7 separate regions of the Homo sapiens genome follow, and regions 1, 2, 3, 4, 5 and 7 are each linked to region 6. The links are contacts of gene promoters, found by promoter capture Hi-C in blood cells and fetal thymus (Javierre and others, 2016). All regions are on one chromosome and are shown on one strand. Each heading gives the region's core, a stretch centred on a gene start or on the middle of the fragment in contact. The rest is flanking DNA. Distances are from core to core; before and after follow the strand shown.

Evidence for each region. The method cuts DNA at HindIII sites, captures the fragments that hold promoters and counts their contacts. A CHiCAGO score of 5 or more calls a contact.
Region 1: a contact is called between a fragment that was not itself captured here and the fragment with the promoter of GTF2A1 in region 6, in 3 of 17 cell types (naive CD4 T cells, activated CD4 T cells and total CD4 T cells). The highest score is 13.4, in naive CD4 T cells.
Region 2: a contact is called between a fragment that was not itself captured here and the fragment with the promoter of GTF2A1 in region 6, in 1 of 17 cell types (total B cells). The highest score is 7.4, in total B cells.
Region 3: a fragment that was not itself captured here is called in contact with the fragment with the promoter of GTF2A1 in region 6 in 1 of 17 cell types (activated CD4 T cells); the score reaches 15.6 in activated CD4 T cells.
Region 4: a fragment that was not itself captured here is called in contact with the fragment with the promoter of GTF2A1 in region 6 in 1 of 17 cell types (total CD8 T cells); the score reaches 5.4 in total CD8 T cells.
Region 5: a contact is called between the fragment with the promoter of CFL2 here and the fragment with the promoter of GTF2A1 in region 6, in 3 of 17 cell types (total B cells, naive B cells and non-activated CD4 T cells). The highest score is 15.9, in total B cells.
Region 7: a contact is called between a fragment that was not itself captured here and the fragment with the promoter of GTF2A1 in region 6, in 1 of 17 cell types (activated CD4 T cells). The highest score is 14.6, in activated CD4 T cells.

Annotation. Positions count from the first base shown.
Region 1 is chr14:36,317,830-36,320,529 of GRCh38, reverse strand. MBIP (MAP3K12 binding inhibitory protein 1) reads left to right here. Exons shown (of 9, transcript NM_016586.3): 1 at 1-70. Among named protein-coding and RNA genes, the nearest start is that of MBIP, 1.5 kb to the left of the region's middle. RefSeq lists an enhancer at 1-204. The HindIII fragment of the contact is 1,817 bases long and covers 368-2,184 here.
Region 2 is chr14:39,166,306-39,169,136 of GRCh38, reverse strand. All of the region lies in intron 1 of TRAPPC6B (trafficking protein particle complex subunit 6B), which reads left to right. Among named protein-coding and RNA genes, the nearest start is that of TRAPPC6B, 2.6 kb to the left of the region's middle. The HindIII fragment of the contact is 2,427 bases long and covers 174-2,600 here.
Region 3 is chr14:39,183,967-39,186,666 of GRCh38, reverse strand. No RefSeq gene overlaps it. Among named protein-coding and RNA genes, the nearest start is that of PNN-AS1, 9.4 kb to the right of the region's middle. The HindIII fragment of the contact is 9,645 bases long and covers 1-2,700 here.
Region 4 is chr14:31,194,692-31,197,391 of GRCh38, reverse strand. All of the region lies in intron 2 of HECTD1 (HECT domain E3 ubiquitin protein ligase 1), which reads left to right. Among named protein-coding and RNA genes, the nearest start is that of HECTD1, 12 kb to the left of the region's middle. The HindIII fragment of the contact is 3,027 bases long and covers 1-2,700 here.
Region 5 is chr14:34,713,222-34,716,044 of GRCh38, reverse strand. It overlaps CFL2 (cofilin 2), which reads left to right and starts at 1,452. Exons shown (of 4, transcript NM_138638.5): 1 at 1,452-1,507; 2 at 2,484-2,791. The coding sequence starts at 1,505. RefSeq lists silencers at 1,016-1,605, 1,696-1,755. The HindIII fragment of the contact is 2,283 bases long and covers 1-1,965 here.
Region 6 is chr14:81,219,544-81,222,243 of GRCh38, reverse strand. It overlaps GTF2A1 (general transcription factor IIA subunit 1), which reads left to right and starts at 1,285. Exons shown (of 9, transcript NM_015859.4): 1 at 1,285-1,755. The coding sequence starts at 1,726. GTF2A1-AS1 (GTF2A1 antisense RNA 1) reads right to left here and starts at 1,026. Exons shown (of 2, transcript NR_135252.1): 1 at 719-1,026; 2 at 1-605. RefSeq lists silencers at 1,121-1,420, 1,451-1,500, 2,031-2,150 and enhancers at 2,491-2,580, 2,621-2,690, 2,563-2,700. The HindIII fragment of the contact is 3,079 bases long and covers 292-2,700 here.
Region 7 is chr14:39,097,253-39,099,952 of GRCh38, reverse strand. All of the region lies in intron 1 of SEC23A (SEC23 homolog A, COPII component), which reads left to right. Among named protein-coding and RNA genes, the nearest start is that of SEC23A-AS1, 4.5 kb to the left of the region's middle. The HindIII fragment of the contact is 1,909 bases long and covers 461-2,369 here.

The sequences.
Region 1 (2,700 bases), core at 27-2,526, about 45 Mb after region 6:
ATGCAGACCCAACCTCTCCCGAGAGGTGCTCTACGAAATCTTTCGCTCCCTACACACCCTGGTTGGACAGGTGAGAGGTGGCCTGAGGGACTGGGAATATGGAAACCATCCGGTCCCTCCTCGCCATTCTTTTTCTCTAGCAGAGGCCGGGGGCAGCTAGGCCTGCAGAGGTGTGGGATGCGGTCCCGAAGCCGAGGTGTGGAAGGAGCCCGGGCCCAGCCTCCTCGGTCGGAGTGAGGAGGACGGCGGTACCGGTTGCAGAGTCGTTTACCTTGCAGCTGTCCTCCCCAAGAGTGGGTGAGGTTGGCCTAAGTGAAAACCCGGCTCCGAGAGAGGCAGGCTTGGAGAGAATGAATGTGGAAAAGCTTCACTGCGAGTTTAGGAGGCGCTTAGCGTTCAGGGTCCTTTTTCCTCCAACTTACTCTTTATGGGAATTGGTTGGTCAGTAGGCCTGAGATTTATAGAAAAGCGCGCGCTTATTAGCTTTTTTTGGTGGGGGAGGGAGTAATTTGTTCTTATGAGTTACTTGGTTTTGTTTATTTCTTTTTTCCTTCGGGCTGTTTTGCGCATCTATAATCCTTTCAAATGGGGAGAAAAGTAAAAGGAATTCATTTAAAATACTTCTAGCGTAAAATGCTGTTGGCGTTAGAACTGTCGTTATTTAACTATTAACTAGTTTAACTGGCTGATAAATCGCTTTTGCAGAAATGTCATAGTAAAATTGGTTTTAAATTGAAATGGGCTTCTTCGATCAAGTCACTGTTTCGTTTCATGGTGTAAAATTCAAGTTTTAAATGAGAAACAATTTAAAAGTATGCTTGTTTACCTGCCTTTTAAAAGGAAATATTTTCTATCTTACATAGACCATTTTCTAGCCGTAAAAGTTTGTTTTGGGGCTGGTACTAGCGCAAGTGGACAAAGCAGGCATTTGTGTCAAAGATAATGGTAAATTCCTATGAAAATAGAACATTTGTCTGATTTGTGAAAATTATTTTTAAAGCCTTGAGTAGATGGAGAATCAGTCTTTTAAGAAGTTACTATTTTTAAAAATCGTAGTATGTTGTGTCTTACAAAGAACATTACTGTAAGTTAAACGGTTTTATGAAATGACGCAGTTATTAATGGAGTCTGCTTAAAGATATAACTTTTAAATTCAGTTGTTTGCCAAGTACTTACCAAAAACATTTTTTAAAGACTTGGGGTGTTTTGTTATTAACATTCCATTCTTAAGACCCAAGACGTTTAAATGGTTTAAAAGTTAGAGAACTTTTTATGGCGACGTTGGAACTTAAGTTTATTTATTTTATAATGTCAAGATGAAAAAAGTTTATTCTCACCTGTTAACAGAAGATGGAATATTTTTAAAAAATACTGAGCAATGATTTAAACATTTCTTTTGAAATATTTTGCATACTGAATTTTTCAAACTCATTAGAAAATTTTAAACATTCAAGTACTGTACAAGTAAAGAAGTGATTACAATTTACTTATGTCACCTGTCAAAAATGTTCACAGTAAATATTTGGTTACTTTACCATGACACAGTGAAGGGACCTCCTATACAAGTGTCAAAAATATGATTGTTTCATCAATTAAATACAAACTGTTTTCATAATACTCTATATTTTGAGAAGTGTTAAGAGTGAAAATTAGAGTTCCATACTTATAAAATTGCCCCCAGAGAAATCAGTATTTTCTTTTGCAACCACTTTAAAGGATATTTAGAATGTATGTTGTAACATGCCTAACTTCATCCTGTGTCATCCCTAAGTATCGTTGTATTATTAGATCTCCTCAGTAGGAAACATAAAACTGAATGTTAAAAATAATTTTTTACTTAAGATCACAAAATTTACTAATTTTAACCTTTTTGCTTGCCTCTGGATGGTCCATCTTACCAAGCTAAACAATTATTTATTTTTAGCTTGGATTTTTGTATTAATTTAGTAAAGTTTTTACTGAAAATATATATTTAAATAGTCTATATTAATAGCAGACTAATAGAGATTTTCGAGTGAGTGGTTTACTCTTCCAAGTTCTGTAGGGCAAAATGCATAGAGTTCATATTACTAATAATGAATTTGTTGAATGAATAGTTAGATGTATTAGGACAGTTTTAAAATTAATTTGTGACATTATGTGGTTTTCTTAAAAGACTAATTATTCTTAATTGCACTTGAAGCTTATGTAATTCTGCTGAATTGAAATGAGAATATGAACCAAACATTAAGACTTATTTTTCTATAAGTTATTTTCTCTAGAAAATGTGATACTTTGCTTTGGTTGAGGATTTGCCTGCTTTATCCCCAAGCTGTATTCTTAAGTTTTCTATAATCAACTATAGATCTCCTTGAAGACTATGAAAGTACATTAATGGGTTACTTCCATACATAATACAGGTTGTTGTCTAACAAAATCTTTATAGGAATTAAAGTAATATAAATTAATGCATTAACTTTAATGTACAATCTTAATATATTCTAATCTTTGCCAGTGCAGCCTACATGAAATTTCATATCTCTTTATACTTGTCTAATATGGACTTTTAAATGCTTCCATTCTCATCTTCAAAGGGCAGTAAATTTCTGTCACATAGTATTTATTCAATATATTATCTTTTTATTGGTAACCTTATATCTTTTTGATCTTTGTACAGTGATTCATCTTTTTTATTATAATTGTGACTCATAAAATCTGTAT
Region 2 (2,831 bases), core at 138-2,637, about 42 Mb after region 6:
TTCTTTAATGCTATTGATAAAAAATGAGTGGAGAGTGGGGATAGGAAATGTATCCTAGGCAAAGATAAAGTGGTAGAGGTATGAAAGAGTGGTGGATTTAAATACACTTAAGCATTTCTTTGGACTAGACTGAATAGAGAGTGAGAAGAATTGAGAGGTGAAGTTAGAAAGCTTTGTGTAATTAAAGAATTCGGATCTTTTCGAGGGAATATTTTTAAGGAAGGGAATGATGTGGACCATTTGCATTTTAGAAAAGTAATCCAGTGTTTGGGCTAGAGAGGGAAGATCCTTGTAGGGGGAAAATCCTTTATTACGGGAGTCACTGCAGGAGGAGATGAAGATCTGGATTAAGACAGGGATAGTGAGAAAAGGAGATAACAGATTTGAAAGTTAGAAAGTGGAATTCTGTAGGCCTTGTTTAAGGATGGGAGTGGGAGTTGAAAATTATCGTCAGGTTTTCAGCTTGAGCAGCTGGGTTGGATGGTGGTACTATTAATCAGAAAAGGAAATAAAGGAGAAGAAAAAAATAAGGAGGTAAGATAATGAGTTATTTCGGGGCAGGTTGAACTTTTGAGGTGCCTGTATGACATCCAAAAAAAGGTACTGCCAGTTTGCACAAGAAGGATAGGCAGGATACATTTGGAAGGTTATTGGAAATGAAGCGAATTCTATTCTTATTCAAATGACCCATCTATAATAGAGATTTTTTTCAAGTCACAAACTTCTGACTTTATTATTGACCTCAAGGTTTACTGTTTGTGCAAAGCTAGCCTTCCTTTTCCCTCTAGAACAGTTAACACACCCCTTTTACTTTTTTGTCATAACCCCCGATCCCCCCAAACCACTTGCGTATTCAGTTCTCTTCATTCTCCCCTCCCTTCTTACCTTTCCTCTTCTCTCTCTCTCTTTTTTTTTTTTTTTAGATGGAGTTTTGTTCTTGTCTCCCAGGCTGGAGTGCAGTGGTGTGATCTCAGCTCACTGCAGCCTCCGCCTCTTGGGTTCAAGCGATTCTCCTGCTTCAGCCTCCTGAGTATCTGGAATTACAGGTGCCGGCCACCATGCCTGACTAATTTTTTTGTATTTTTAGTAGAGACGGAGTTTCACCCTGTTGACCAGGCTGTTCTTGAACTTCTGACCTCAGGTGATCTGCCCGCCTTGGCCTCCCAAAGTGCTGGGATTACAAGCGTAAGCCACTGCGCCTGGCCCTTTTCTGACTCTTGTCTAGAATAATATTTTTTCTTCTTTTTAAAATATCTTTTTTTTTTCCCGTGGGTTAATCCTAAATAAAATGAACAGAGCTGTTCTACTCAGGCCTGATAATTTTAAGAGATGGACTAACATACAAGAGAAAGGAAGTTCATAGTTTTGAATCATTTAAGCTAAAAATAACTTTCTTTTTCTACTGCAGTGTATTTATGATGGGGGGGAAAATTGAAAGTACATAATAAGCAAAAATTATATAAATAACAGTTATGTGGTAGTCTTCATAATCAGAACCCATACTGAAATACGGGTATATAAGGGTTCACATTAGTGTCCATACTTTGAGTGTGCTTGAAATTTTTCATCATGAAAAATGTAAAAGATACATAATCCTGTCATCCAGAGGTGATTTTTAGAGATTTTTTTCAGACATAAAAAGATCTGTAAAAACTATGTTGTTTATGTCTGAAAAGACCTATAAAATCCATTTCTCGCTGACAGGATTATGTGTCTTTTTTTTTGTTTTTGTTATGGAAAGTTTTTTTAAATGAAATAAAGTTTTATAAATTTTCAGTATAGCAAAATAAACTTCCATAAGACTTGAGGTGAGATAAAAGAAAGAAACAGTGTTCTAACCCTCCAAATCAAGGTTTTTCAAACTATGCTTAAAGAGGAATTCTCTTAAAATGGACTAATTGGGCATTTCTCAATTTATGGTGAATGGATTTTGAAAGGCTAATGGATAAAATGTTCTCAAGTTGAATTTTTCTTAAAAATTTGGTGCCTACTCAAAAGTGCATGAACAAGTAGCAAAATTAAGTAGTAGGGCTTAATTCAAAAGCTCATGTGATCATAGGATTTGAAAGTGTCTGCATATAAGCATATTGTAACTGCCCAGTGGGTTCTTCTTCCCCACTGCCCAGGTAGAGCTGATCTATCAAGACAGGAGAATTGCAATAAGGAGTTTATGTAGAGCTGCTAAATGGGAGAGCAGAGTTTTATTATTGCTCAAATCAGCCTCCCCAAACATGCAGAGTCTAGGGTTTATCAAGGATAGTTTGGTAGGCTGGGGGCTGGGGAATGGGTGCTCCTGGTTGGTTGGGGATGCAGTTACAGAGGTGGGGGCCAGAGGACCAGTTGGAGTCATCCGAAATGCAAAAGTCTGAAAAGACATCTCAAAAGGCCTTTTTTAGGTTCTACAATAGTGATATTATTTACAGGAGTAATTGGGGAAGTTACAAATCTGTGACTTCCAGAATAATGTCTGATTATCATTTAACTACCTACATTTTAGCAGAATTCAGACCCCTCTCATAAGCCTAACCTTATAGTCTTTCATTAGTTTTGCAAAGGTGATTTAGTTTCGGGAAGGGCTATTATCATTCTTGCTTTAAGCTTACACTATAAACTAAATTTCTCCCAAAGTTAGCTTGGGCTGCATCCAGAAATGACCAAGGGCAGCTTGGAGGTTAAAGGCAAGATGGAGTTGATTAGGTGAGATCTCTTTTACAGTCATGATTTTCTTACTGTTACAATCTTTGCAAAGGTGGTTTCAATAGTTCCTGCTAATAAATATGTTCCTAGGTGATTCTACAGAGAGCAGATTATTCCAAAAAGAGCATCATGAT
Region 3 (2,700 bases), core at 184-2,683, about 42 Mb after region 6:
CTACTATGTACAAGGAGCACTCTGGTCACCCTTTAGCTGCACAGCACACAAAATATTTACAAAAAATGTCACAGAAACTGTTGTTTCCATTATTTGGAAGAAAACGAGGACAAATTTCAGGATGTGACTTGGCTCATTGTTTCAAACATATTTGGATGTGCTGAAAGAGAGGAAAGAAAGTGGGAAAGAGAGACCAAGCCACTTAACACCAAGGATTTTTTTTTTTTTTGATGGAGTCTCGCTCTGTCCCCCAGGCTGGAGTGCAGTGGTGCCATCTCGGCTCACTGCAAGCTCCGCCTCCCGGGTTCATGCCATTCTCCTGCCTCAGCCTCCCGAGTAGCTGGGACTACAGGTGCCCACCACCACGCCTGGCTAAATTTTTTATATTTTCAGTAGAGACGGGGTTTTCACCATGTTAACCAGGATGGTCTTGATCTCCTGACCTCATGATCAGGGGCCCGCCTCAGCCTCCCAAAGTGCTGGGATTACAGGCATGAGCCACCGTGCCCGGCCAACACCAAAGATTTTGGGACAGTCATGGCAAGGAGTGGCAGCTATTACAAATTTGAATAGGGTAGTCAACTGGCCATGGAAAGTGGAGTTGCAGGCATTTGAGTATCATCATTTTTTTTAGTATAATTATTTAAGTTCCTTTTTTGAAAAGATTGGCTGGACATGGTAGCTCACACCTGTAATCTTAGCACTTAGGATGGCCAAAATGGGAGGATCGCTTAAGCTCAGGAATTCGAGACCAGCCTGGGCAACAGGGCAAGACTCTCATCTCTATTTAAAAAAAGAAAAAAAAAAAAAAGTCCTGCTAGCTGAGACAAAGACAGGCGTAAGAAAAACATTCTCAGATACCTCGTTTATTTTTACCAAGTTGTAGTCTCTACCCCACTGGCTTACTAGAGTAGTGGTATTGAATCAAATACATAGCTACATTTTCTGGGCTATGTGATTTAATAACATTCATTTTAACCTCAAAAAGGGAAAATGGGTTGGATTTGTCGTTGGATTTCAGAAGATATTTTAAAGTTTGACTAGTCATAAAAAAATTCTTACACAATATTAGCCATAAAAGAAATTCTTGTTTATGTACTTTAAACCCACATCTTGACTGACTCTAATAGCATTGGCCCATGTAATCACTACTCTCTTTCCTTTTGAATTTATGTCAATACATTATTGGTATGGTGGCTTTTGCTTTGCCCAAATTACCTGAGTAATCATGTAAATTGTTATCATTCTACAGATAGTGTGTAGAAGGACCCTAGATTGGAAATACAGCTCATTGAAGTTCAAACTATCTTTATTTTGGTGGTTACCCAAACCTTGGTATCTTAAAAGATGTTTCCTTAATAGCCCCTTAGACATCTCTGCCAATTTTTTTTTTAGACAGTCTGTCACCAGTATGGAGTGCAGTGGTGCCATCAAAGCTCACTATAACCTCAAACTCCTGGGTTCAAGCAATCCTCCCACCTCAGCCCCCGAAGTAACTAGAACTACAGGTACACACATGGCTAAATTTTTCTATTTTTTGTAGAGATAGATTCTTGCTGATGCCCAGGTCAGTCTTGAACTCCTGGCTTCAAGCCATCCATCCTCTACCCTCAGCCTCCCAAATTGCTGGGATTACAGGTGTGAGCCATAGCACCCAGCCTGTCTTTCCTAATACAGCTCTAAACTGATTTCAGTCCTAACTCACCATCTCTATCCCCTTTCAGCTCCTAAGTTTTCCATAAACACTATTTGGGTTTTTTTGTTATTTTTTAGACAGGGTCTCACTCTGTCACCCAGGCTGGAGTGCAGTAGTGTGATCATAGCTACTTCACCTCAACCTCCTGGGCTCAAGCAATCCTCCTGTCTCAGCCTCCAGAGTAGCTGGGACTCAGGCTCATGCCACCACAATCGGCTAGTTTTTCTCTTCGTAGACAGTTTTTTGCCATGTTGCCGAGGTTGGTCTCTGGCTCCTGGGCTCAAGCAATCTTTCCACCTCAGCCTCCCAAAGTGTTGGGAATTACAGGCCACTGCACTCAACCATAAACACTAATTTGTAATCTCCAGTAGGAAGACTACTGCGTGTTAGCCGGGCGCCGTGGCTCATGCCTGTAATCCCAGCACTTTGGGAGGCCAAGGCAGGCGGATCACGATGTCAGGAGTTCGAGACCAGTCTGGCCAACACAGTGAAACCCCCAACTCTACTAAAAATACAAAAAAAAAAAAAAAAAAAAAAATTAGCCAGGTGTGGTGGTGTGCGCCTGTAATCCCAGCTACTTGGAAGGCTGAGGCAGAATTGCATGAAGCTGGGAGGCGGAGGTTGCAGTGAGCCGAGATCGCACCACTGCACTCCAGCCTGGGTGACAGAACGAGACTCCATCTCAAAAAAAAAAAAAAAAAAAAAGACTACTGCATGTCTTTTCCCCCTGGGAAACTGTCATTACTTTTACATTCTTCTTCCTTGTGTCTCTTCAAGTGCAATTCCATGGTTCTCTGAACATTAAGTTCCATAAAATTTTAGTTCAAGGATAAAGCACTGATCGGAAACAAAAAAATCTAAAATACTATATTTAAAAAATTAAACCTTCCAACCTAAAAATGAATACCACTTAAAAATGTTAGTACAATCTGTTATTAAAATTCCTGTGCTCACTTCAGCAGCACATACTAAAATTGGAACACAGACCAAGAGTGGTGGCTCAC
Region 4 (2,700 bases), core at 125-2,624, about 50 Mb after region 6:
AGAGAAGATAGAGACGTTAGATGCACATGTTTTGGGTTTGATGGTAAAAAGTTAAGGGCTGGGACTGGGCGTGGTGGCTCATGCCTATCTGCAGTCCCAGCACTTTGGGAGGCCGAGGTGGGTGGATCAGTTGAGGTCAGGAGTTCGAGACCAGCCACGGTGCCTGGCCCTGAGTTATAGTCTTAAAAATTGATTTGCCTGTGCTACTCCCTTTTACAGAATCTGTTGGGTTCTTCACCTACAGGATCAAATTTAAATGTCTTCAAAGACCCCTCCTGCATATTCTCACATGTATACACTACTTCCACTTTACTATACTTTCAGTTCTCCACTGGACTACGAGCTCGTCTTTGTTTTCCCATTGCTAAGCATAGTGCCTGGCACACAAATAGCTAATATCCAGATACTGAAGGAGTGAATTGAAGAGATTGCTTATATTGGACCTGTTTTCCACCTAATGCCTAAAATGCCCATGGAAGGTATTTGTGGAGTTGAGAAACTTGTTGTTAGTATGCAGGAGGAAGAGTATTGTATTCTTTTTTGTTTTTTTTTTTAGCAGATACAGTATCAATAAGTACTTTCCTTACTTTCTACCATTAATATACCTGCCTTTTCTTTCTTTTTTTTTTTTTTGTTTTGAGACGGAGTCTTGCTCTGTCGTGTAGGCTGGAGTGCAGTGGCGCAATCTCGGCTCACTGTAACCTCTGCCTCCCGGGTTCAAGCAATGCTTCTGCCTTAGCCTTCTGAGTAGCTGGGACTACAGGCGCACACCACCATGCCCAGCCAATTTTTGTATTTTTTAGTAGAGACAGGGTTTCACCATATAGGCCAGGCTGGTCTCGAACTCCTGACCTCGTGATCCTCCCGCCTCGGCCTCCCAAAGTGCTGGGATTACAGGTGTGAGCCACTGCGCCCGACCTGTACCTGCCTTTTCTATATTGACCTGTTTTCTTCTACCCAATGGCAGAGTAATAGGGAAATGAATTACTTTTGTTGATCAGCCCTGACCCTTTACTGGAGAAGGAATGTTCATTGATATATCAAATATGTATAATCCTCAAGAGTTAAATAAATGAGCTGAACACGGTGGCTCATGCTTGTAATCCCGATACTTTGGGAGGCTGAGTCAGGTGGATGACTTAAATTCCGGAGTACAAGTCCAACCTGGCCAACATGGCGAAGAAACCCCCTCCCTACTAAAAATAGAAAAATTAGCAGGGTGTGGTGGCACATTCCTGTAATCCCAGCTTCTCAGGAGGCTGAGGCACGAGAATCGCTTGAACTCGGGAGGTGTAGGTTGCAGTGAGCCCAGATTGCACTACCACACTCCAGCCTGGGAGACAGAGTGAGACTCCGTCTCAAAAAAAAAAAAAAAGTTAAATGAATTCCTGTAAACAGACAGCAACTGTGTATGTGCTTCTTTTCAGTGGACAGCAGAGAGAAGTGCTGGAATGAGAAACACTGTCTGTGAGGGTTTACCTGGGACTCCAGGGGGTCCATAGGTGATTAAATTCAGGGAGCTTTTGTGACGATTACCAGAGTTTCTGTCAGCTAAAAAAATGTAGAGGCCAGGCTCCACTGGTGGCTCATGCCTGTAATCCCAGCACTATGGGAGGCCAGGGCGGGTGGATCACCTGATGTCGCGAGTTTGAGACCAGTCTGGCCAATATGGTGAAACCCCATCTCTACTAAAAATACAAAAATTAGCAGAGGTCTGGTGGCATGCGCCTGTAATCTCAGCTACTTGGGAGTCTGAGGCAGGAGAATTGCTTGACCCTGGGAGGCGGAGGTTGCAGTGAGCCGAAATTGCACCACTGTGCTGCAGCCTGGGCTACAGAGTGAGACCTTGTCTCAAAAAAAAAAAAAGTTAAAAACCACTCTTAATAGTTTCAACAGGAAAAATACAAGGAAAATTTATCAGAGATAGATTTTTATCATTTTTATTTATGGGTATGACATTGTGTTTTATAACGCTTTGTAAGTGTACTTTGCATAGTTCTTGACTGTATCATTAGATTGAATTCTTCAGAGTCAGTGAACTCTTTCTTACTCATCTTTGTGTCCCACCCCCAACACTTAGCATAGCACTTGGTGTAGAAAGGCATTCAATAGATGTGTTGAATGAATTGCAGTCAAATTTGTATGTGTATTTTAATTGGAGAAAAGCAAACTTACATCTTATAATTGGACTTTACCCCCTTTTTCTTTGCAAGGGAAAACCACAATTTTCAGCTGCTGTACCAGGAGTTATTTTTAGCTCAGCAATACCAAGAAAGTCAAGGCTGGGAGCAGAGGCAAAAATGGAATATGAAATGGATCAAAAGATGTTGCGTTATTTATTGTCTTTAAGAAACCAGATGTGTTCAGGTTTTTCAGTTAAAATATTTCATTTTTTTAAAATGAAGTGCCTGATTTACAGACTATTTTATAAAATATCTCTACTACAGATAATGCCCTTTATTTTTTTTAAAAACAGTTATATTCTTTCATGTCTTTGCCAATCTTCTGAAATCTTGGCCCAAGTTCAAGTGAAAAAAGCATATGGTAGTTATAATACAGAAAATATTACAGTTCCCAGGGAAATTCTTTCTCTTTGGAACCTCATGTAACCTTTTTTTATTGCTTCCATCAGGGAAAGATTCTGATGTCTTTACAGGTAGCATTTTGGAAACCAGTGCCTAATTTGGAGTCATCTGAAGA
Region 5 (2,823 bases), core at 203-2,702, about 47 Mb after region 6:
ATCCCCAGCTTTGGTGGGTAAGGTTCTGACACCCACTTTAGGCCCCAGTGTCATCAGACCTGGTCTCTGCTGGGGCTGCTGCAAATCTCTGAGGTTGGGAAGGGAAGGTAACCGCAAGATGAAGCGAACAGGAATTTGCTAATACCTACACATAGCAGATGATCAGAGCTCTGGAGAGACATTCTCCATGACTTCTTGGAAGTTCAACAGATAAAGTGAAAGGTTCCATAAATTGTAATGTACCAGCTAGATATAAAGTATTATCCACTTGCTTGGGATTCATGCTTAGACATTGGGAAATCCCTTCTCAATTTTTGTCTCTAAACGAAGTCTATCTTCCAATTAAGAAAACAAACCCAAGATATAGACAGAAAAATAGGTCTGTTTCAATGCCTAGCATGTTCCATTTAAAATACAGTAAATTTGGGCTGAAAGAACTTATCACGCAATCTAGGGCAAACACCATCTCATGACTTTCCTGCCTAACCTCAATCCTGAGACCACCAAAAACACACCATTTCCTACTGAACATTGATATACTCAGAAACTGAAATCTAAAGCTGGAAAGGGCCTTAACGATAATTTAATAACAGTTTGTTTTACACATGAAGAACCCTGAGGTATGGAGGAGTTAAGATTAAAAAAAGAGAAACTGCCTTGGCGCAGTTATATGGGCTTTGCTAGAAGAGGCTGCGTCGGCTTATTTGATATCAGCTGTCATAGCTGGAGCTTCATGAAATCTCTAAGAGAGAGTACAATCCATTTCCTATGAAGTCTAAAATGTAAAAGGATATTACTAAGGAATGCTACCACGTAATTTTTTAATCATAATTATTATTTCAACCAGAGTTTTGAAAAGTGATTTACCAACACTGCGTATCATTTTGTTTTTGCTAAGTACTATCAACTGGAGCAATCTCGTGTAGTATTTATTCTCATTTATCTCTAAACAACTGGGGGTTTTCCAAAAAGACTCAAAATGTCGAAATCCAGCCTCTTTCGGGAAAACCACAGGTAAATAAGGAAAGACACCTTCGCAGGAGTTCCCCTCACACGCACCCACCCCTGGCGCAGGGCCCTACGGAGGCGGTGGAAACGCCCCTCTGGGAGCCCAGCACTCTCTCCCACCGGCTTGACGGGTGATGCTCGGGGGCTGGAGGCGGCTCTGCCAGGCTCCCGGGCTCCGCTACCACCGCGTCGCCCCCCCCGGCCTGCAGGGCTCGCGCTCTGAGGTCAGGCCGAGGACGCGGACAGCCGGGGAGCCGGGGCCGCGAGACAGAAGGGCCGGCCTGGGAGCGGGTGGCGCCGGCTGGGGACCAGGCGTGCCCACGTGACCGCCCCGCCCGCTGCCTGCGGCCCGCCGAGCCCCGCCACCTCCCTCGGGCTGCAGCTCCCGGCGTGCCCCGCACTCTCCGCTGCCCACCCGCTCGCCCGCCCCTCCTTCTCCTCCCAGTGCCACAGAGCCGAAGCCCGAGCTGCCGCCGCAGCCACAGCCGAGGGCACTATGGTAAGACGAGCGCGCTGGCCGGGAGGCCGCGGCGAGGCGAGAAAAGCCCCCCGCACGGCCCCGGGAGTGAGGCCGCCATTTTAACCTGATTTTGGCCTCCAAGGTGGGCGCTTCTGCTCTGCGGCTCCGCTGCTCTCCAGCCGACCGGCCTGCCCTCCGGCCGTCAGGCCCTGCCCTGCTGCTCTTTGGATTTTGGGGGGCGGGGAGGGCCCGGGCGTCGGCGCAGGTTGGGGGTCGGGGCCGGGCGGGCGGGGGCGCGAGAGGGTCTGCGGACTGCAGCCGCTCGCGCCGCCTTTGCCCTTCGCTTCCTAATTTTACTTAACACGCGAGGCTTTAAAATTGGTACGTGCTGCGAACGCTGTGTGGGTCAGGGTCTGGACGGCCTGTAATAAAACCCTTACGGGGAGATTAAGGAAGAGGGAAAACACTTTTTAAAATGCTTTCTCGCCGTAAAAGCTTTTACACTCGATCAGTTAGTTTTGGAGTGTCTGCATGTGAGCTGTGTGTGGGCCGTGGGCGGTTTGGAGTTTACACTTGATTCTCTTTCCTTATGAGGAAACGTCAGTGGCTAGGATGACTTTAAAGAAAAAAATAGTAGAAGCATTAACTGAAATCCAAAAGTGTTTTTTTAAGGCCAGCCGAGTTGACACAATACAGAAGGTATTTTTGCTGCCACTCCTGAAGCTCTGACATCACCCAGTGAAATAGGAAACATTTCAGGGATGGGACAACTTGTATTTGTCCCTTTCGCTTCCACGTCCAAACCCCTTTAAGAAGGATGAATGGGCAGGATGAGTTAGACTCCTTCGCTGTATCGTCTACTGATTCTTAAAATGTGACAAATCTGATTGGACGACTTACATGGTACGGTGCAATTTTTGATGTCCAGACTAAAGTGAGTCTTCTCTAGGCAAACAGTAATTTTGGTTAAAACCAAAATACGTGTTCTGAATTACTGTTCTGTGTTTATTTTCAGGCTTCTGGAGTTACAGTGAATGATGAAGTCATCAAAGTTTTTAATGATATGAAAGTAAGGAAATCTTCTACACAAGAGGAGATCAAAAAGAGAAAGAAAGCAGTTCTCTTCTGTTTAAGCGATGACAAAAGACAAATAATTGTAGAGGAAGCAAAGCAGATCTTGGTGGGTGACATTGGTGATACTGTAGAGGACCCCTACACATCTTTTGTGAAGTTGCTACCTCTGAATGATTGCCGATATGCTTTGTACGATGCCACATACGAAACAAAAGAGTCTAAGAAAGAAGACCTAGTATTTATATTCTGGTGTGTAAAAACAAAAGAAAAAAGTACTTTTA
Region 6 (2,700 bases), core at 36-2,535:
CTAATCCCTTTCTTCAAGTCTTGGCAAGATGCATTTTTTTTCCTCTTTGGTAAGACGCCTTTGATATTCTTCAAATCTGGTTTCACCAGCACAGAACTTTGACGTTTCGTTTTGCTTTGTCTCTGGAAGACAAACTCCCTCACTCATCCACGCGACATTTCAAGTCCCTCAAAATTCCCAGGGACAAGAAAACTAGGTACTATGAATTCTGCCTTCCAAACAGCATTCTCTGTTCTGCTTGCAAGGTCGATATAAAGGCAGGATTTGCTTGGGCAGAACAAGTCAAAAGCTTATTGAATTGCACTTATTGAATTGAACATGGAACACAGCCGGCTTGCTCTCTTATAGCGAGAGGCCATGCGAGTTGGTGGGTCAAGGGCATGCATTTCAAAGTGATCAGTCACTATACGTTGGCCACATGGAGTCGCAGTATTTTGGCAATATTTTTAAAAACCAGGGAAAGTTACTGTGCTGTTACAATCCAAAGGCTGGTGGGGTTTTCTTCCACCCCGCATTTCCACTAGCGTGATAAATTATTTAAAGTACGTGGCCTAGTAGAGGACTAACCTCTGGGTAACATAAGCCTAGTCTTCGCAGCGTACCCACTGTGGAAACAAACGAATCAGACGTTACTAATTGTGGAATGTTAAAAGTAGGCCCCGATCGGCTTTTACTCCCTTTGGAAAATCCTACACAATTCTGCGCGCGAAAGACCCACCCTCGGTGAGGCGGTGAGGCGCGAACGCCGCGAAGCTCACAGTCAAAGCCTCGCTGACAAATCAAGAGATGACTCCGCATTTAAAACCTTCCCGAATAGGAACGCGCCAGAGGCCGGAAGCCACGCCACGTGACCAGTCCTCCTCCGCGGCCATTCCTAGCGAGGCAGTAGGCACCGCCTCTGTCACATTTCCTAGCTCCTAAAGCGCGGGACCAGGCGGAAACGTGCGACAGGAGGCGGTCCCACCTAGCTTTGGACTGGAGTGTCAGTAGAACTCCCGTCTTTTCCAGCAACGCTTTGCAAGTTCTTCACCGCAAAGAACTGCCGCAGACTTCCGCCTGGGTGCCAACCACGTGATCACGCGAGCGTTGGAGAGGCGTAGGTCCGATTTCACTACTTCACTCCCCGGGCTCCGCCAGTCCAGTACCCGCCACGGCGCGTGACAACGCGGCTCGCCGGCGGCCTCCGCCCCGGCGCGCCTGCGCACGCGGCTCTCGCGGTGTCTCGCGCTCAGCCCCGCCCACCTCTGCCCCCGCCCTTTCCGCCCCTCCCTCCCCCTTCACCCTGTCTCTCGGCGGCGGCGGCGGCGGCGGTGGTGGCTCGCGCAGCTTGTTGGCTCGCTATATAAAGGAGAGAAGCGGGCGGACCGGACGGCTGGAGCTGCAGCCGGTGGCGGCAGCGGCGGCGCAGGGAGCGGTGACCGGTGGTGGTTTCCCTCCTTGGCGCGGGGTGGGGAGCGGGCAACGCCCCCCGGACCCCTGAAGGGTCGTGGCTTTTTTTTTTTTTTTAAGGCGATTCTCGAGGTTTTCAGCTGCGGGAGGAGTGCCCCCCTCCTCCTCCTCTCTCCGCTCTCCCCTACTCCTTCAGGATTGATTTTGTTTAAAATTTTTTCCCCAATCTTGCGGTGATTTGGGTCACCCTCCGGGTGTTATAGTTTTTTTTTTTTTGGTTTTGTTTTTATCTTGTTTTCTTGGGGTTGCCCCCTCTTGTTTGTGTTGTGTGTGGAAATGGCGAACTCGGCAAATACAAACACCGTGGTAAGGACGTGGTTCGGTGGCCGGCGGGGGCTTCGTTCAGGCTGCAGCAACGGCCGGACCGGGCGGGGGCGGGGACGGCGGCGACTCCCGGCCTCGACTCTTCAGCCGCCCGCGCGGCCGCCGCCGCCGCCGCTTCCCGCCTCGGGCGGATCGGGCCGGAGCGCCGGGCGGCGGGCGCGGGGGGGCGCCGAGGGCTCGCGGCGCGGGGAGGGCGGGGGCGCCGGTGGGGCCTGGGGCCGCCGCGGGCCGGGCCGGGCCGCGGAGGCGGTTGGGCCCGGTCGGGCGCGCAGCCCCGGCCCCAGAACCCGGCCGCCGGGAGGGAGGGCGGGAGGGGAGCCGCCGCTTCCCCCCGAGGGGCCCGTCCGCGCTGGCTTGACGAGGGCTCCCCGAGTGGCTACAGAACAAAAACTGTGTGTGGGGAATCGGGCGAACCCCCGAGACCCATCGTGATCCACTTTAATGCAGTGGAAGATTAATGGTTACTTTGGGGGTTTCTTAGGTTGTTTTTGGCGGCTGTGCTTTGGGAACCTTCTCTGAGGCCATTTTATGTTTAAAAAAAGGACGAAGGTTGGTTGAAAAGCACTTATCTCAGTTCCTTCCGAATGGGTAAAATGGCGAAGGGGAAGACCCCCATCGTATCTTCGCCTAGCAGAAGCACCAAAACAAACAAAAAAAGCCTGCAGTGGTCCAAGTGTCCCCGCTTTCGCCTTGAAATTTACCTACTTCTTCCCGTTGGTCCCTTTTTGTTACTTGCGATCACGTAGGTTTGCAAAAAGCAGTCACATAAATAACCTTTTCAGTCACCAACGCAGTGTGATCACTAGTCCACCCAACTCTTATTTTTATGATGACAATAAAACACGTTTTTTGCCCGGTCCCAAATGCCGCAGACCAGCCCGCGGCCGCCCGACACCGTACCGTTGGCGACTCGGGTCTAACCATCAT
Region 7 (2,700 bases), core at 166-2,665, about 42 Mb after region 6:
GTGAGGTTTCCTAATGGTCCTAAGGCAGTGGTTTTCAGAACCCCTAACTTAAACATTATTGAGTATCCAAAGAGAAAAAAAAAAGGCTAAATAGAAGACAGGTGGGTTTTCATATCTGTTTCTGCAGTTTATTGTGATATATTGTTTTGGTTGAATTGTATGAAGGATTAATTAATAAATTAAAAGGTTAATTGCAGTGTGGAATCTGAAAGCTTAGGAGTGACCTTTTTGTACTTTGTTACCTTAAAACTCATTGGCCTATTCTACACTTTGAATGGATCATCTACCCATGTGTGATATTTTCATATCACAAATTGACGGTTTGGAAGATATTGCTTCACTGAGTAATGTATATCTTCTAAATGTTAATACATTTTGTTATATACTATCAAACAAATTACATTAATACCAACACTGATCTCATCAGAAAAATCTTTACATATTAGGAACTTGTCAAGCTTATGGTAGCAGGCACAAGTTTTAAAACAATTTAATGGCGGGGAGCGGTGCCTCAAGCATGTAATCCCAGCACTTTGGGAGGCCGAGGCCGGCGGATCACGAGGTCAGACAATTGAGATCATCCTGGCCAACATGGTGAAACCCTGTCTCTACTAAAAATACAAAAAATTAGCTGGGTATGGTGGCACGCGCATGTAGTCCCAGCTACTTGGGAGGCTGAGGCAGGGGAATCGCTTGAACCCGGGAGGCAGAGGTTGCAGTGAGCTGAGATTGCCCCACTGCACTCCAGCCTGGTGACAGAGTGAGACTCCGTGTCAAAAAAAAAAAAAAAAAAAAAAACCCAAAAACAATTTAATGTTTGCTTGAAAGCTCAAATTTTTATCATTGGCAAAAAATACTATAAGTTGTTTTCTATGAAGTGATAGGTTTACTTCATACATTTTTGAGAAAATATCTGTGTAATACCTAAGTACTAGTTATGTACTATCCTTGGGAGAATTGAGAAAACAGTCATTGAAAACATTTTTTGTTTTGTGTTTCAGCTATTTTAATGCCTTTTGCAGATGTGTTTTAGATGCATTTTATTTTTTTTTTTTGTTATGGCACATTAGAATTTTTATTTTTTCTTAATAACACTGGATTTCTTATGACTTATTTTTTGTCAAATGTAGTCATCCCTGTTCTGATTTCATTTTATTTTATTAAATTTTTTTTTTTTTTGAGAAGGAGTCTCACTCTGTCGCCCAGGCTAGAGTGCAGTGGCATGATCTCGGCTCACTGCAACCTCCACCTCCCGGGTTCAAGTGATTCTCCTGCCTTAGCCTCCTGAGTAGCTGGGATTACAGGCACTCACCACCAGCTCAGCTAATTTTTGTATTTTTGGTAGAGATGGGGTTTCACCATGTTGGCCAGGCTGGTCTTGAACTCCTACCTCAAGCGATCCGCTGGCCTCAGCCTCCCAAAGTGCTAGGATTACAGGCGTGAGCCACTGTGCCTGGCCTTAAAATTTTTTTTATTTTTAATTTTTGTGGGTACATAGTAGGCGTGTACATGCTTCTTAAATTATAGGAGCAATTAAGTAGTAAACACAATTTTATTTGCCTTATGTTCTGTATAATAAATGTGGAAGAGGTTTGCATAGTCTTAGAATTTATATTCACATCAGTAACATGGAAGCTGTTGCTAAAAACTGGATTTCTAATCTCCCCCTCACCCCCACGTCCTGGTTGTTTTTTCTTTATTGCCACCTATGTTACGGTGGAGTTTGACATCTTCTAACTCTCCTCTGAATATCCCACACCTTTGTTTTATCATTATCTTTCAACACTTTTCCTTGAAAGCTCATACCACCCTTCTCAAAGCTGCCTTCTATATTTACCTTCAAAATAGTTTTGTTTTTTTTTTTGAGATGGAGTCTTGTTCTGTCGCCCAGGCTGGAGTGCAGTGGTGCAATCTCAGCTCACCACAACCTCTGCCCCCCCAGTTCAAGCGATTCTCCTGCCTCAGCCTCCTGAGTAGCTGGGATTACAGGTGCATGCCACCCTGCCCAGCTAATTTTTTTGTGTGTTTTTAGTAGAGACGGGGTTTTGCCATGTTGACCAGGCTGGTCTTGAACTCCTGATCTCAGGTGATCCACCTGCCTCAGCCTCCCAAAGTGCTGGGATTACAGGCTTGAGCCACTGCACCCGGCCCAAAATAGTCTTTTCTAAACAAGTTTAGTCTTGGGATTTCTCTTTACCCTTTATGCACCTTTGAAAAACCACAATCTTTTTTGATTAGCGTAAGATTTTCTAGCTGTCTCCAAGATTCTGGCACAATTGGAGGAAATACAGTGTTTTCTTTAATTTTTATTTTCTTATTTAAAGAAGAGAAAGTTCTTAACTGCTTGGAATGCTTAGATTTGTTAAGCTTCACTTTCTGCCATTTGTTTTATGAAAATTTATTTGAAAGATTTTCTAAAATTAAAATTGTTATATCTAACTTTTTCCCCCCAAATAATATCTCTTCTTTCTTCACTTAAATTTTAGAATCAGCTTCTTGTCCCACTATTGCTCTTAGCAACTTTAAACATCCATGTTGGGTTTTCCAGGCACCCTAGGTTCACAGTTCACTTCTTTCAACTTGACGTCCTTCCTGTCTGCTGCATAACACTTGAATGTCTTTGTCCTCCCACACCTTTAAATTCTTCAGCTTCCTTCCATGACTAACTACTGTTGCAGTTTGAGAGCATGAGATAGAGCT